Linked DNA regions of Homo sapiens: region 1 is linked to region 2. The links are contacts of gene promoters, found by promoter capture Hi-C in human tissues and cell types (Jung and others, 2019). All regions are on one chromosome and are shown on one strand. The core of a region is centred on a gene start or on the middle of the fragment in contact, and the rest is flanking DNA. Distances in the headings are between cores, read along the strand shown.

Region 1 (3,859 bases), core at 324-2,823, 420 kb before region 2:
GGATAATTAGGTGAGGGAGTTCCAAAAATATGGAAATATGGGCTGATACAGATTTTGTTTCCTAATTCATAGGAAAAATGTTAGAAAGGCATGAAAATTAAACCTCAGCTTTCACTTTAAAAAAGCTGTTAATCAAAACAAAATGATATGAAATAAGGACTCAAAATTATCATGGTTATAAGGAATAATCTGGAGTGATTTTATAAAAGTTGGTTTCTGGGTCAAATAAGTTTTTATTCACAGAAATAAAGAGATCTGCAGGTGACAACTAGATTTGTAATATGCATCCATACGGACTAGCAGAGGAGTATGTGGCATGATTGGGGTTACAATGATTCATGTTAAATTCACGGCATTATGTAGGAAAGCTACAGCTGTATATATTATAATTTTTTTTTTTTTTGAGACAGAGTCTCGCTCTGTCGCCCACGCTGGAGTGCAGTGGCACGATTTCAGCTCACTACAACCTGCGCCTCCCGGGTTCAAGCCATTCTCCTGCCTCAGCCTCCCAAGTAGCTGGGACTACAGGCACCCGCCACCACGCTTGGCTAATTTTTTGTATTTTTAGCAGAGATGGAGTTTCAACGTGTTAGCCAGGGTGGTCTCGATCTCCTGACCTTGTGATCCACCCACCTTGGCCTTATAATTTTTTATTTTACCGTAAAAAGGCTTCCACATTGCATTTCTCCTTCCATGAGAAAGATCCCAAAGTCAGGGGAGAACTAGCAAAACACACGTGAATTCAGATTAACCAGGTAAGAGAAAATGCCCTCTCCTTACCAGAAGAACTAAATAATTTCCAGGGCTAAAAACCAAGGACGTTGGATGGCAGGCCGGTCTATCCAAGACTCTCCCCAATCTAGATAAGGAAACAAGTAAAACTCTGATAGCGGGTGAAACACACTGGTATAGAGGAGAGGTTTGTGGGTCAAAACAGGGGCTTGGATGTGGGCCGAGGTAGTCGAGGGCCAGCGTACAGTGTGCCTGTTTAAGGATTAACAATATATGCTTTAGAATAGTGCTTTATTAATATAGTCATGAATCATAAGAATAGCTTGTGCTTAGTCCAACAATATAAGAATCAGGCGGTGAGCTTGCTTGACTGACCACAGAGTGGAACAAACAACCGCAGGAAGTGTGCGGAGCCTCTAAGCAAGAAAGCTTGCTTATTGCTCAACCTCCCACTTGAGTCCCTGAACAAAGGTCTCGTGGGAAGGGAAGCGACCCCTGCTCCATTCCCCAGAAGGGAACAGCAGGAGGCTGCTTGTAAAAGAGGAGAAGTCCTCTGCGGTAGAGATGAGGAGGAAGTCTTCTATCTCTCGCTCGTTCCCAGAGGCGGAGAGCTCTGCTGCTCTGCTGATGGTGCTTGGAGTGGACCACTCCTTTGATGCACAGGCCTGTGGTCTGACGGGCTATCTGCTTTCACATCCTGTTCTGTTAAGCCCCTCTGCCACCTCTCCCCATGGTCACTCTATGATCACCCAACCATCTGCCCACCCTCAGCCCATAGGATCAAAGGAATTGTACTCAATAAACATCAGTGGAATCCAGAGCTCAAGGCCTTCGCAGTTTCCGTGTTGTGATGGAACCCTGGACCCACTTTTGTTAACTCTTGAACTTTGTGTCTTTATTTCTTTTCTCATTCCTTCATTTCCACCGGGAAGGGGAGAACACGCATGTGGTGTAGCGGGCTGGTTCCCCTACATCTTTGGCACCCAGTGTGGGCTCCTTGTACCCAGGTGGAGTTACACCTGAGCATGGTCATTGCGGAGACCAGTCTGTCGAGGGACTCCCAAGAACGTGTGGTCGGCCTTGCGGTAAGCTTGTGTGCTCGGAGTATTCCAGGGACACCATGGGACAATCGGGAAGTAAGCACTCTGCTTACTTACACTTTATCAAACTCCTCTTAAAGAGGGGGGTAATAAAGGCTAGCACAGAAAACTTGATTACTCTGTTTCAAACAGTAGAGCAGTATTGCCCTTGGTTTCCTGAATAAGGTACCATGGATTTAAAAGATTGGGAGCAGGTTGGAATTGCCTTAAAACAAGTTCATAAGGAAGGAAAACTTATTCTTCTAACGGTCTGGTCAGACTGGGCTATGGTTAAAGCAGCCTTGGAACCGTTTCAAATGGAAAACGAGGTTTATCCTCCGGCAGAAAGAATTCCAGCGGAGGAAGGCGGTGCTGCCGCCAATATAAATATAAAGGAAGTTGAAGGAGGAGAGGATAGTGAAGAAGATTTTGAGGAAAGTACAGACAAACCTGGAGATGACTTAATTTCTTTTGAGGAGCATGTGGGACCTCCAGCTGCTCCTAAAATAGAGAAGCTATTTATGCCAATATGTTTAAAACAAAGAAGGGCCTTGAGGAATCTTTGGCTCCTCATTGGGATCATCCGGAGTGGCCACCTCCAATAAGGCAACGTAACCTGGAGCCTTGGAGGTTTGAATCTCCAATTTGCCCTGTTTCACGAATGGATAAATTAGGGGCTCAGGAATCAAGAACACGTTTTGCAGCACCAGTACAGCATAGGGCTGCACTGCCACCTAATGTCAATGAATCACCATTTCAAATGGTTATTCGGCAGGCTAGGTTAGCTGGAGATCCCGATGCCTGGCAGTTTCCAGTAGTTTTGGAACTCCCACAGCAGCAGGGTGGTGCCCATCAGGCGGTATGGGAACCATTTTCTTTTAAGCTGCTTAAAGATCTCAAAGCAGCTGTTGGTCAGTAAGGTCCCAATTCGCCTTCTGTCCAGTCACTATTACACTCAGTAACTCAGGACAAGCGATTGGCCCCGGACGATTGGGAGATTTTAGCAAAAGCTACTCTTTCGCCCTCCCAATTTCTTCAATTTAAAAGTTGGTGGACCGATGAGGCTCAAAATCAAGATCAAAAAAACCGTGCTGCTAATCCTGTTGTTGCCATTTCACTTGAACAACTGTTGGGAGTTGGGGGCCAATGAGGAACTGTACAACAATTAGTGCTTCAGGATGATGCCGTTGAGCAAATTCGCAATTGTTGCTTGAGGGCATGGGAAAAAATTCAGGACCCGGGAACTACTTATCCCTCTTTTAATTCTGTCAGACAAGGCTCAAAAGAACCGTATCCTGATTTTATTGCTCCTCTTCAAGATGCAGCTCAGAAGGCTCTCACTGATGAAAGTGCCAGGAAGGTGATTATAGAATTCTTGGCTTATGAAAATGCCAACCCTGACTGTCAATCACCTATTCGCTCTGTGAAAGGAAAGGTTCTGGTGGGAGTTGATGTAATCAATGAGTATATCAGGGCATGTGATAGATTGGTGGAATCATGCATAAGGCTATGATAATGGCTCAAAACATGGCAGGATCAAAGGTGGGAGATCCAGTGAAAAACTTTTCAGGCAATTGTTATAACTGTGGGCAATTTGGAAATACAAAAAAGGAATATAAGAACAAATCAAACAAACAATCCAGATCTAATCAAACAAAGGAGCCACCTGGCTTATGTCCCAGGTGCCAGAAGGGTAAATGTTGGGCTAAACGGTGTCACTCCAAATTTGATGAAAATGGCCAACCCTTGCAGGCGCAATTGGGAAATGGGAAGAGGGGCCAGCCTCAGGCCCCACTCCAAACTGGGGCATTCCCTCTCCAGCAGTTTGTCCGTCAGTGGGCACCAGTGCCCTTAATCCCTCAAGTGACCACCACAGTAACATAATTGGCGCCAGTTACAACAGGGGGCGCTGCTTTAGATTTATGTTGCACCAGAGCTGTGTCTCTGCTTCCAGGGGAACCACCTCAAAAGGTGCCCTCTGGAGTATTTGGCCCTTTACCTGAGGTAACAGTTGGACTTGTTTTAGGGAGATTTAGTCTAAATTTAAA
Region 2 (3,913 bases), core at 534-3,033:
ATTCGCCTTCCCAGGCTCCTAAGCCCAGTGACAGGAGAGACTCTGGAATGATCAGAGATTCTGGAATGAAAAGAGCTATGCCCACTGCTTAGGAGGCCAAGGATTCTGCAAACTGATCCCCGCAGATACCACAGCGCTTTACTCTGGTCTCCAAGGCCATGGCACACCCTAAAAGATTAAAATGCCTTAAGGTAAATGACCATTCCCAGATGAAGGCACAGAATGTAAACAAAGTGTGGGCCGAGGGAAGAAACTTGAAAAATCACAATAAAGTGGCCTCCCAGAGCAGGCAACTAGCAACTTTGTAGGAAAAGGAGAGGGAAGAAGTCCTGTGTTCTGCACTGAGAGATCATTTCATGTCACGCTTCAGTGCAATTAAAATAAAAAAGGATTTACTAATTACAAAGCAATCCTAACAAGGTACATAATACAGAATATTCACATCTTATACATCTCCTAGAGAAAGATTACAAACACAGAATGTTTCACCTTCCGGAGGAGATAATTATTAACTTTTAAAGACTAGCTCAGGCAAGAATGAAAAAGTATCAAGTCAAGGCCACATACATTCTAATTTTATAACCCAGGCGGCCCTGGATGGGATTCAGAGAGCTCTTATTTGAATAAGATCTGACGATATCCTCTCATTAAAAGGATTAGTGTTTCTGCACAAACGTCTAGATAAATCTTATTACTGGTCCAAAATTAGTCACCTAAAGGCTTTAGCCAGTTTTGCACAAATATTTACAACTCTGAAGAGGCTGAGTACTTTTTCTCTTGAAATCCAGGCACTATATCCACTTCAAAAGCCACATATGATTGTGGCTTTTGCTGAGCATATTTCTTTTCGACGAGTTGAAGATGACAATCTCTCAATACCTTACTCCATAGACTGGATGTAAGCGTCAAAAGAGGATGAAAAGGTACTTTCTGAACGGACAGGTACTCTGGGGTGATGGGTTGGGAGATTCTCTAAGCCTCAAGAACAGCGTTTCATGAAACGGGCTTATAAAATACAGCCCATCTCAAACGGATTTTAAAAGGCACCCAGTTACTTTAAAATACCCAATACAAACACCAAGACGGGCTATTTTACCAGGTCCCCTGCAGAATGTGAAGGGGCTTCCAGCGCTCCAAGCCGGCTTTCTAATTTAAGCCAAGAACCGAAAAGGAGCGAAGGCGGCTTCGGGGACCCCGGCAGCGTGCAGGGCCAGGAGGTTCAGCCTGCCCACCCGGAGAGGGGTGCGCCGAGCTCCTCTGGAAATAGTGACTGAAGGGTCCCCGCGAAGTCGCCGTGCCAGCCCCTCTCCCAGTTCCAGCGGTCCCCGAAGTCCCCGGGCAGAGCCGGCTGCACAGGGACCGGACGAGGCGAGGCGCATTCCGGGGCGCAGCCCCGAGGACGAAGGTCCACGGCTTCAGCCCCAGCCCACGGCCCCGACTCCCTGACGAAGACTCGCTGGAGCGCGGCCTCAGGGCAGCTGCGCGCAGCTGGACTCGTCCCCGGGAGCCCTCGACCCTCTAGTTCCCCGCCGGCCCCAGGGCGCCCTCGCCCCGCTCCTTCCCCGCCGGCCCCAGCGTCCGGGCTGCCCCTCGCCCGCGGCCTCTCGGCGGGGCTGGAGACCTAGCAACTTACTGGGGCTGGGTTGGGGTCGCGCCAAGAAGGCGGCGGTGGGCTGCCGGCTGCAGCGCGTCGGGGGCCCGCGGCTGGGGGACGCTGGAGCAGCGGCCGCCGCCTCGCTGGTCCCGCGAAGAGGAGCGCCCGCCGGCCGCGCTGCAGAAGGAGGGCTGGGCACGTGGGCGCCCCTCTGTGTAGCCACCCGGGGCGGGGGCGGGGCGCGGGGCCGGGCGGCACCGCCTCCTCCGCGCTCCCGGAACGCGACCCCGAGCCCGCCTCCCGCCGGGCCCCGGCCGCGCTGACCAATCCCCGGGGTGGGCGGTGTGCGGCCGCTGCTCAGCGGGGTTTGCCTGGAGCCGAGCACACGTGGGCGGGCGCTAGCCCCGGGCTAGGCCGGTGGGCGCGGGCCGGGGAAGAGAGGCTGCGCGCGAGGATAAACTTCGTGCTCTCCTGGGAGGACCAAACCTCAAGGGCATTTCCGAATCTTCTAAGCAGAGTTCTAAGTGGGGTTTTGGTCCCCCCGTTTACTTTCCATTCTACAAAGATTTTGGAAATAAGAAAATAATAATAAAATATAATAATAGCAATGATAAATGGAAGCCCAGGTGGATGTGCTTTGTCAAATGCAAACTAAACGTTGATAAATAATGTGCAGTTGCTATTTTGGAAGACTCCAGTGGTATGAATACGTAGTCACGATTGTTTGGGGGTGGGTTTATAGGAAATGACATTATTTCCAGGGGAGCAAGAGCAGAAGTTACACAATCAGGGTTTCTCCTACTGCGCTATTGTTTACTTTAGGAGTCTCTGATAAGATTAAGTCACAATGTGAAAGCCTGTTAATTTTCATCCAAAACGAAGCAAAACACGCACTGAATTGAACAATAAGTGTGTGTCAGTGTGTGTGTGTATATGTGTGTGTGGTTTGTCTTTAGAGACAGGGTCTCACTCTGTCGCCCAGGCTGGAGGGCAGTGACACAATCGTGGCTCACTGCAGCCTCGACCTCCTGGGCTCAAGCTATCCTCCCGCCTCAGCCTCCCAAAGTGCTGACAACTACAGGCTTGAGCCACCAGGCTGAGAATTACAGGCTTGAGCCACCATGCCCGGCCTATTACTATTTTTGTTTGACAGAAAGGTCCACTTTACTTTGCATAGTATTGGAGTAAACGTCCCTTTAACCCACCTACTAGTAATAACTTTGGCAAAGTGCCAGATTTGTATTGCTGCCTCACAGTACATATACAATTTTAATGTGATATTCTAAATCATTCTTCCCTTCAAGACATATATCCCCAAGATCATCTAATAAACGGTGTGGGGCTTCATTCCAGAAGATAGCACACACACAAAATCTCAATGTATCTCAGGAAGCCATCCATGGATTTCATCAAAAAGTGAAAGTGTAGGCTGGGGGTGGTGGCTCACGCCTGTAATCCCAGCACTTTGGGACGCCGAGGCGCGCCGATCACCTGAGGTCAGGAGTTCGAGACCAGTCTGGCCAACAGGGTGAAACTCCGTCTCTACTAAAAATACAAAAATTAGCCGGGCGCGGCGGCGGGCGCCTGTAACCCCAGCTACTCGGGAGGTTGAGGCAGGAGAATCGCTTGAGCCCAGGAGGCGGAGGTTGCAGTGAGCCGAGATAGTGCCACTACAGTCCAGCCTGGGCGACAGAGTGAGATTCCGTCTCAAAAACAAAAGCAAACGAACAAAAAAACTGAAAGTTTAAACAGCACTATGATTACGAAGATATTATCTGATAGACCAAATGTCTTAAGTAATAGAGACTGTCAAAGTAAACTTATTTTTACAGTCAAAAAAAGATTCCTTATGCAAATTATCATTAATAACATTAAGGGAAATGATGCGTGTGGACTTTTAACACCAGATTCCTCCTCAATCCCACGGCTAGGAGGCGTTGTTCAAGGGAGCGATGACTCAGATACTTTGTCTAATTTTTAAGGGTGAGTAATCTGGTCTAACATTTTTCACCTGGTTTAAAAAAAATAGAGATTCCTGGGAGTCGCGGTGGCTCAGGGCGGTTGCCCTGGCACTCGAGGAGGCGAGGCTACACGTTCGAGGCCAACCTGGTCAACATTGATTAAAATAAAGAAAGAAAAAATAAAAAAATAGAGATTCCTATTTTTAAACTTAAGCAATTATTTCCCCACATATTTTTACTTAAAGGCTCTGTGTTTAAATCTGTTTAATTTGTGATTAAGTTACAACACAATGATTTGGGATAAACAAATTTATCTGGAATTTGGAAACTGCCAATTTTGTCAGAATACCGATCTTTG

What was found. The method cuts DNA at HindIII sites, captures the fragments that hold promoters and counts their contacts. A contact is called where the count stands out against the background at its distance.
Region 1: a contact is called between a fragment that was not itself captured here and the fragment with the promoter of SLC7A2 in region 2, in 2 of the 25 tissues and cell types used here (aorta and heart left ventricle).

What each region holds. Positions count from the first base shown.
Region 1 is chr8:17,913,688-17,917,546 of GRCh38, reverse strand. It overlaps LOC124901892 (endogenous retrovirus group K member 25 Env polyprotein-like), which reads left to right and starts at 1,560. Exons shown (of 1, transcript XM_047422511.1): 1 at 1,560-3,859. The HindIII fragment of the contact is 3,187 bases long and covers 1-3,166 here.
Region 2 is chr8:17,494,958-17,498,870 of GRCh38, reverse strand. It overlaps SLC7A2 (solute carrier family 7 member 2), which reads right to left and starts at 1,783. Exons shown (of 13, transcript NM_001370338.1): 1 at 1,634-1,783. The HindIII fragment of the contact is 11,749 bases long and covers 1-3,913 here.